Linked DNA regions of Homo sapiens: regions 1 and 3 are each linked to region 2. Evidence: promoter capture Hi-C in human tissues and cell types (Jung and others, 2019). All regions are on one chromosome and are shown on one strand. The core of a region is centred on a gene start or on the middle of the fragment in contact, and the rest is flanking DNA. Distances in the headings are between cores, read along the strand shown.

Evidence for each region. The method cuts DNA at HindIII sites, captures the fragments that hold promoters and counts their contacts. A contact is called where the count stands out against the background at its distance.
Region 1: a contact is called between a fragment that was not itself captured here and the fragment with the promoter of C1orf220 in region 2, in 3 of the 25 tissues and cell types used here (IMR-90 fibroblasts, adrenal gland and dorsolateral prefrontal cortex).
Region 3: a contact is called between a fragment that was not itself captured here and the fragment with the promoter of C1orf220 in region 2, in 3 of the 25 tissues and cell types used here (psoas muscle, small bowel and spleen).

The regions. Positions count from the first base shown.
Region 1 is chr1:178,353,032-178,355,872 of GRCh38, forward strand. All of the region lies in intron 3 of RASAL2 (RAS protein activator like 2), which reads left to right. Among named protein-coding and RNA genes, the nearest start is that of CLEC20A, 140 kb to the right of the region's middle. The HindIII fragment of the contact is 3,225 bases long and covers 1-2,841 here.
Region 2 is chr1:178,541,145-178,544,135 of GRCh38, forward strand. C1orf220 (chromosome 1 putative open reading frame 220) reads left to right here and starts at 1,652. Exons shown (of 3, transcript NR_033186.1): 1 at 1,652-1,741. It overlaps LOC124904460 (a long non-coding RNA gene), which reads right to left and starts at 1,501. Exons shown (of 2, transcript XR_007066748.1): 1 at 890-1,501; 2 at 1-682. RefSeq lists an enhancer at 1,347-1,406 and silencers at 1,457-1,786, 1,817-1,886. The HindIII fragment of the contact is 22,776 bases long and covers 1-2,991 here.
Region 3 is chr1:178,290,046-178,293,152 of GRCh38, forward strand. The region is part of intron 2 of RASAL2 (RAS protein activator like 2); the gene reads left to right. Among named protein-coding and RNA genes, the nearest start is that of RASAL2, 200 kb to the left of the region's middle. The HindIII fragment of the contact is 3,441 bases long and covers 1-3,107 here.

The sequences.
Region 1 (2,841 bases), core at 90-2,589, 190 kb before region 2:
GGTCTCAGAAATGCCTGCAAGGCCTTTTCCCTAGTGTCTTGGCTATCAGTACTTGGCACCTTTTTACTTATGCAAATTTCTGCAACCTGCTTGAATTCCTCCCCTGAAAATGGGCTCTTCTCTTCTACCACATGGCCAGGCTGCAAATTTTTCAAGCTTTTACTGTCCATTTCCCCTTTAAATATAAGTTCCAGTTTTACGTCATGTCTTTGCTCATGCGTATGAGCATAGGTTGTTAGAAGCAGCCAGGCTACATCTTGATTACTTTGATGCTTAGAGATTTCTTCTGCCAGATATACTAAATCATCACGCTCAAGTTCAAAATTCCGTAGATCCCTAGGACAGGGGCAGAAGGCCACCAGGTTCTTTGCTAATGCATAACAAAAGTGACCTTTGCTCCAGTACCCAATAAGTTCCTCATCTCCATCTGAGACCTCTTCAGCCTGGACTTCACTGTTTATATCACTATCAGTATTTTGGTCACAACCATTTAACCAGTCTCTAGGGAGTTCCAAATTTTCCCTCATCTTCCTGTCTTCTTCTCAACCCTCCACACTCTTCCAGCTTCTACCAGTTACCAAATTCCAAAGCTTCTTACATATTTTAAGGTATCTTTATAGCAGTGCCCAACTCTTCAGTACTAATTTTTTGGCTATGATGTAATCCAGTATAACACAACTGTAATCATGATAGTGACTATACGTCACCTTGGCCATGTAATGTAACCTAATCAGTGGAGTGGCTATCCCATCATATTACAGATTCCAGGCCCCTGAGGGTAGAGAATTATACAAGGGTGTGGTGGCTCATGCCTGTAGTCCCAGCTGCTCAGGAGGCTGAGGTGGGTGGATCACTGGAGCCCAGGAGGTCAAGGCTACAGGGTGAGCCAAGATTGTGCCACTGCACTCCAGCTTGGGTGACAAAAATGAAACCCTGTCCAAAAAAAAAAGAAGAAGGAAGATACATTTTCAAATTACAAATTTTTTTCAGTAAAAGAGACTACACACATCAGCTACTTTTATACCACCTAGCAATGACACATCATGAAAGGACAATTACAGGGAGTTTTACTCATTATTATAGTTCCAGAAATCCTAAAAAAAATATTAGCAAATGGAATAATACATTATGACTAAAGTTGGGTTTATAACACAAAATGCAAAGTAGATTTAATATTAGAAAGTTAGAATAGTTTACCATTAATGAACTAAAGGAGAAAAATCTTAAAATCATCTCGATTGAGCAAAAATGACATTTAATAAAATTTAACAACTATTCATAAGAACTCTTAGCAAAACAACAATAGAAAAGAATTTCTTTACTCTGATTAGTGATATCTACAAAAACCCATCGACAAATATATGTAATGGTGAAAAGCTTTCCCTTTTAGATGAGGACCAAGGCTGGGATGTCCATTATTATCCTTGCTATTCCACATTGTATTGGAGGTCTCAATCAATACAGTAATCAATACAGTAAGGTCTCAATCAATACAAGAAAATATGTAAGGATTAGAAAATTAAAACTTCACAAGTGATGTGATCATTTAGAAAATCCAGTAAAAACTTTACAGGCATTGAGTTTAGCAAGTTGCTAGATAACAAGATCCATAAACAAAACCTAATTGCATTTCCATAGATCAACAATAAACTGAAAGCAAATTTTTTGAGATACTGTTTACAATAACAAAATGTAATAACCTAGGAGTAAATCTTTTAAAAGATGTGTAAAACATCTAAAAAGTAAACTATAAAGCTTTATTAGGAGAAATTTAAGAATAATCTAAAGTAGATATATACTACGTTTCTGGAGTTGGAAAACTGGTTTGTATGGTGTTAACTTTTACCCTAAATTCCTTTATAGATTCAATGTAATTCCAGTTTTAAAAATCTTGTGAAGCCTGGGCAACATGATAAGCCCCATCTCTACAAAAAATTTGAAAATTAGCTGGGCGTGGTGGCACATGCCTGTGGTCCCAGCTACTTGGGAGACTGAAGCAGGGAGGATCACTTGAGCCAGGAATTCTAGATTGCAGCGAGCTGTGATCACACCCCTGCACTCCAGCCTGGGTGACAGAGCAAGACCCTGTCTGTCTGTCTTTCTCTCTTTCTTTCTAGGTATCTATATATTTGTATATATTAGGATAGCCAAAAACTCTTTTAGAAACCTAATTTAGGAGGACTTGCTCTGTCAGCTATTAAGGCTCTTTATAAAACTATATTAATTGAGACAAAGTGGTATTAGTGTTAGAAATAGACCAATGGAACAGAATAAAGAGTCCAAAAACAGACCTGTGCATATATGTACATTTTACTTATGATAAAATTGACACTGCAGAGTGGTGGGGAAATTAAGATCTTTTCAATAAATGATCCTGGCTCATCTGGAGATCCATATGGAAAAATAAAGTGGAAGTGGATTATTTCTTAACAATTTACATAAAAATGAATTCCATCTAAATTGTAGACCTACGTGTAAAACACCAAATAGTAATAATACCACTTTTAGAATATATTATAGCATCTTCATGACCTGAGGATAAAGAAGTAATTATTAAATCAAATAGAAAAAGCACCAATTATAAAGAAGAAAAAGGTGATAATGTTTATTAATATTAATAACTTCTGTTTGTCAAAAGACACTACTGAAAGTGCAAAAAGTCAAGCTATATAAACCAACAAAGAAATTATACCAGAATATTTCAAGCATCCCGACAAATTGAGAAAGACAAAGCCCAATAGAAAAATGGGCAGAGACTTAATAGGCACTTCACAAAAGAATATAACCAAATGGCTGTATACATTTAAAGAGGTGCTCAGCCTTATCAAGGAATCCCAAGTT
Region 2 (2,991 bases), core at 402-2,901:
AATCTAGACAGGTTAAACTATGTGAAGGGTTTAGAGGAGCGCCTGGCTAACCGTATTAGCCACTGTCATTCTTTTTCTTCCAGTTGCTCAGGACAAATCCTAAGAATGATGCTTATTTCTCTCTTTCCCTCATGCACCACACCCAAGCTCATCAGCAATTCCTGTCCATTCCACCTTCAGATACAGATCACAAATCTGACCTCCTCTCCCCATCTCTGTTGCTACCCTACTCGCCTGGGCCGCATGGTCACTTGTGGTGGTCTCCTAACTGCTCCCCTTGTGTCTACCATGGCCATCATCCCCACACCAGCTCTCCAGGTGGCAGCCAGAGTGATCTTACAAAACCGTAGGTCAGGTCATTGCCCCCTGTCAGACTCAAGCCCATCACAGCCCTTGCTATGCTGACAGGCCCATCCCACCCCAGCCCGCTCCCCCCACCACCTGCCCCCCTCCGCCACCTCACCTGTGCCTTCTGCACGCCTCTCCCACCACTCCCCCTCCCTCCCTTTACTCTGGCCACTCTGAATGTCACTGGTCCTCCTTGAGCCCTCCTGAGCCCTCTGCCCAGAGTAATGCCAGAGTGGAGGCCACAGCTGAAGGCAGAGGCTGTTGGCCTGGGGTGGAGAGGGGAGATTCCTCTGGGTGGAAGGTGACATTGGGCAGCCTTGGATGAAGTGAATACCTGGTGTGGGGAAGCAAAAATAAATAGAGAAACAAACGGATTAATTTTGCTTCTTTCCAGGGACTTGATTTTCTACAAGTGCTGCTCCAAGAGGCTTCTACACCCCCGCAGGGAGGCAAGCACCGTTTTGAGGTGGCCGGGCTGGCGAGGAGGTGCAGACCCCAGCCAGCTGGAGGGGCTCTGCCCTGATGGCGTTCCCACTCCCACCTCATTCGCAGGGCGCCGGGGAGGGCTGCAGGTGTTCTATTCCCACCCGGCTTGCAGCGCAAGGAGGGGAATCGCCTGACACCTTCCCCTTCTCCTCTGCCCCGCTTCCTTTCTCTGCTCCCACAGGTGGAAGTCACCAGCGGAAACAACCCTTCACTGTATGGAGGGCTGGGAGAGAGGGGCCAAGAGGGCCCCGGGAGAGCCACTGGGCGGCAGGCAAGGGGCGGGGCAGTCTCCCTTCCGGCTTCCGGGACCGAAGGGTGAAGGGCAAGGGGAGCTCAGGGAATGAACGAGTGCTCCCGACTAATGTTTAACCCACGACTCCGAGACTCCGACTGGTCACAGTCCTGCAGACCTCCAGGTCCTGCACAGGCGACGCAGCGCTCCACTGGCCCGGAATGCGCACCCCGGGGGAAATGGAAAGTGCCATTGAAATGTCAGATGTCACCGTCTTCATCAGCACTCTTGGAATTTTGGCCAAAGTGGCTTCTTCTTTTGCTGAGACTTGACTCACTCCCGGCAGAGGGATGATAGCGGCCTTGCCCCGAGCGTTTATCCGGCTGCAGGCGTCATTCTTGGTCGCCTGTGTGTCCAGAGCCCCAGCGCAGGAAGGGAGCGCAATTCCCACCGCGCCCGCTGGGTGGCGCTAGCGCCGCACCGTGTCCCGGGATGAGGGGAAACCGCGCTGCCCAGTCAGTACCCCGACGCCCCCGCGCCCCCGCCGGGCCCCGCGCGCTGCAGCCACCGCCTCTTCTCGGCTTCCTCTTGCTTTACAGTAACTCTCCTCCTGGGGAAAAGGCTTTTCACGGAGCAGGCTCGGAGCCTACGGGGCTGGCCTCGGACTGGATGGGGGTAAGGACGGGTGGCGGCGCTCGCGCCGAGCGAACGGAGGGCTCAGGCGGCCGGTGATCAGGGACGGGCTGCGGCCGCCGTCTGGGGTGAGAGGCCCACCCAGAGCTCTGGGCCAGGGCTCGCGGCTCTCGTGCAGATGCTGGGCCGGGAGGTGTGGGGAGGGGGCTTCCCAGGCGGGGCAACCGGAGGGGAATGGGGTGTGCAGGAGGGAGGGGAGGCGTGGAGCGCCCGGCCTGCAGGCACTGGGCGGCGCTCTCCAGCCTCCTCTTCTCCCGCCGGGTGCCTGGTGGCTTGGCCTCCCCTCCAGAGCTTCGCATATCCTGGCGGGAGCCGGCGCTCTCTCTCCATACTTAGGACTTGACCCTTATTCCACACCCGGGCAGGGAATCATTTGCCCAATCCGAATTTGATTTTCTGCTTGTGAGAGGAGAAACTGGTGACAGTGTCGCATGGACACTGTCGGGGAAGCCGAGACGTAGACCTGGAAGCCTGTACCAGAGGCCTTGTGGACAGCTTTGGAGCATGCATCTTAAGGCACACCACCGGTTTCTGCTGCTTTGGCACAGCCACGCAGCACCTAGGATGCTTCTCTGCACGCAGCAGAGGCCTAATCCGTGCACCCTCTGACGGTGTTGGAGGGAGCTGGGGAGCAACATCAGATTAATAGCCCCTGGGCTATTTGTATGACGTGCAGATTTCACCCTCTCATTCTTAAAGGGTGAAAGGCTGCAATTCAGAAAGGCGAAGATGGGGCCCAGGAATCTGCAATCTGCGTGGGGTTTTTTTTTTTTTTATGAAGTCTTGTTCTGTCGCTCAGGTTGGGGTGCAGTGGCGCGATCTGTGCTCACCGCAACCTGTCTTCCAGGTTCAAGCGATTATCCTGCCTCAGCCTTCTGAGTAGCTGGGACTACAGGTGCATGACACCACACCTGGCTAATTTTTGTATTTTTAGTAGAGATGGGGTTTCACCATGTTCGCCAGGCTGGTCTTGAACTCCTGACCTCAAGTGATACGCCCACCTTGGCCTCCCAACGTGCTGGGATTACAGGCATGAGCCACCGCGCCTGGCCAGAGTTTGCATTTTGTTGTTGTCGTTTGTTTGTTTGAGACGGAGTCTCGCTCTGTGGCCCAGGCTGGAGTGCAGTGGCGCCATCTCGACTCACTGCAACCTCTGCTTCCCAGGTTCAAGCGATTCTCCTGCCTCAATCTCCCAAGTAGCGGGGATTAACAGGCGTGCCACCACCATGCCT
Region 3 (3,107 bases), core at 395-2,894, 250 kb before region 2:
TACCTGGCTCTAATATATTTTTTATAGCATTTGCCACCTGCTAAAATGCTATATAATTTATTTATTATGTTTACTGTCTCTCATCTCCTACTGGAATATAAGCTTTTGAGCAAAGATTTTGTTTGTTTTGTTCAAGGATGTATCCACCAGTTCTTAGAACAGTTCCTGATGAAACATAGGAAACTCTCAATAAATATTTGTTGAATGAATGTTGCAAAAGCCAAATTAAAAACTTTTATTTCTGAATGTCTATTTCCTTAATATAAGTTGAATAGAAAATATCTTCTATCCTTTCTTTCCATGATATATCTACCCAGAACATGTAACTTAATTCTTTATTTTTCTAAAACTAATAAAAAGAGAAAAATAATTGATGCGGTGCTTTTCCACAGTTGAATACATGATTCCATCTTTATTTATTGAGCACCTATCATTATTTGTAGTATTGTGGACACAAAGATGCAGTTTTGTTGAGAGGTAAAATAAAGTTAAAACCATTTGGAATTAGACAGCAGTGGTAGTTGCACAACGTTGTGAATGTACTAAATGCTGATGAATTATTCACTTTAAAATAGTAAATTTTATGTTATATAAATTTTGCTTCAGTAAGTTTATTTTTATTTATTTTTTTGTTTGTTTTTTGTTTTTGAGATGGAGTCTTGCTATGTCACCCAGGCTGAAGTGCGGTGGTGCGATCTCGGCTCGCTGCAAGCTCCGCCTCCTGGGTTCACGCCATTCTCCTGCCTCAGCCTCCCAAGTAGCTGGGACTACAGGCGCCCACCACCACGCACGGCTAATTTTTTTGTATTTTTAGTAGAGACAGGGTTTCATCGTGTTAGCCAGGATGGTCTCGATCTCCTGACCTCGTGATCCGCCTGCCTCAGCCTCCCAAAGTGCTGGGATTATAGGTGTGAGCCACCACACCCAGCCAAGTTTAGTTTTTAATTGTAATATAACCATAAGAGATTAACTGAGATATGGCCTAGGATGGATTATAGTATGGAGTGGAGAATGCCAAAAAAGTGTTTTACAGAGAAATTTATGCTTGGACTGTATCTTAAGGGACAAATAAGGGCTCATGAGGAGAAAAAGAAGGGAAGGACATTCTGAGTGTATATAATGATACAAAGTCAAGAAACATATGTCTCTTTGGCAAACTGAAAAATATTCAGAGTTCATGGAACATAGTTTGCAAGAGGAAAAGTGATAGCTAGCAAGAACTAGGTAATGAAGAACCTTGAAGGCTATGATGAGGAATTTGGATTTTATTCCGGAAATGATCTGGACCAGGGAAAGGGTATTTAGCAAGGTAATGACATCATCAGATTTGCTTCTTAGAGAAGTAACTCTGTGGATTATATGGAAAATGAAGTGAAAGGGATTAGAAGCAAATAGATGAGTTACAAGATTGCTGCAGTAGACCAGGTGAGGAATAATGAAGGGATAAATTTACAAAACAGTTTACAAAAACAGTTTAATGCCCTCAGACAGGTGTTTATGTTCTGCCATTATTATATGGGGAAAATTGAATTAAATCTCTAGGAAAAGAAAATGTGAAGCCATTGCTTTACATTGCTTTACTTGAATAAGTTTGATTTTCTGTTAATTTCATTACATGAAAAGATTATAAATCAATTTCTTGTGTAGGAACCAGAATATGCTGTCACCCTTCTACCTTTCACCCACACTTAAGAATTATAAAGAATGTGGGCCGGGCACGGCGGCTCACACCTGGAATCCCAGCACTTTTGGAGGCCGAGGCAGGTGGATCACGAGGTCAGGAGTTCGAGACCAGCCTGACCAATATGGTGAAATCCTGTCTCTACGAAAAATACAAAAATTAGCTGGACATGGTGTCGGGTGCCTGTAACCCCAGCTACTCGGGAGGCTGAGGCAGGAGAAATCCTTTGAACTCGGGAGGTGGAGGTTGCAGTAAGTTGAGATCGCACCATTGCACTCCAGCCTGGGTGACTGGGCAAGACTTTGTCTCAAAAAAAAAAAAAAAAAAAAAAGAATTATAAAGAATTTAACTCTTAATCCTTGGAATTTTGCATTGAATAATTTAGAATTTCTTAAAATGAGTTTAAGGAATTTCCTGCTAAAATTATCTAAAAAGATGGTTTTAAACTTTAATTAAATCATCATGGGGGTGTTTATTGCTGTGTTAAAAAATTAATTAAAAGGGTTCTGTAAGGATTTAAACTGAATCCTTAGCCAGGCACTGCTGGAATGTGGGAGGATTATATTAGTCTAGTATCACTCATGTATTAAGTCAGTGTGTGGCATCTTTTAATGCTTTCTCTTAACTCTACATGTTTCTTGTCAGAACTGGGGAAAAGTCTGTTTGAGGAGTATACATGGGAAGAGTGTTAAATATTCCAATGACCAATCTGGGAATGTGGCAGAAGGGTAGATTGGGGCAGAATGCTGAAAGAGAAGCTTGCTGGGAGTGTCACCTTGACAAATGACTTATTGGTTCAGTAAACTGCTTCATGCAAATTGTGCCAAATAGATATTGCTTATGTGCTATGAAATATACTTTCTTGCCTGGGTACCAGGAAAGGCCCCAACTGGCTTGATACCAGCCCAGTTCAAAGAGGGCACAGGAGGCCATTTGACTTTCATTTTGCTTGCAAGAGATGAGACCAAGTAAATTTGAGATTAAGGAGTTGAGGGAAATGGTAGAGAAGACAAACATGAACCCCTCAGAGGTACAGCCATTATAAAAATACAAAAGCTGAATTTATGAGTTTATTTCTTTTGGCAATAACAGTCTATTAGGCAGGGTCCATTTGACTCCATTTTTCTTAATGCAAACTCTACTTTCTATATTTAGAATGTTTAAGGCTGGATTCTGGTGTATAGGCAGCAAGGCATTTAAAATGACACTTTTAAATGTTTTAAAACATTTTTCTTTTGAAAGTGTTTACACTCAGATATGTTGATGAAAATATCAGTCTTTGTGCAAATAGCTAAAAATTAACTGGTATTTATTCTGGGGTGAGCTACCTATGGCATATTTCATTCAGAACCACTTTTAAATTATTCAATAGATATATAATATGCCCTTATATGTTATTCACTGTGTTAGGAGTTACAAAGCACAA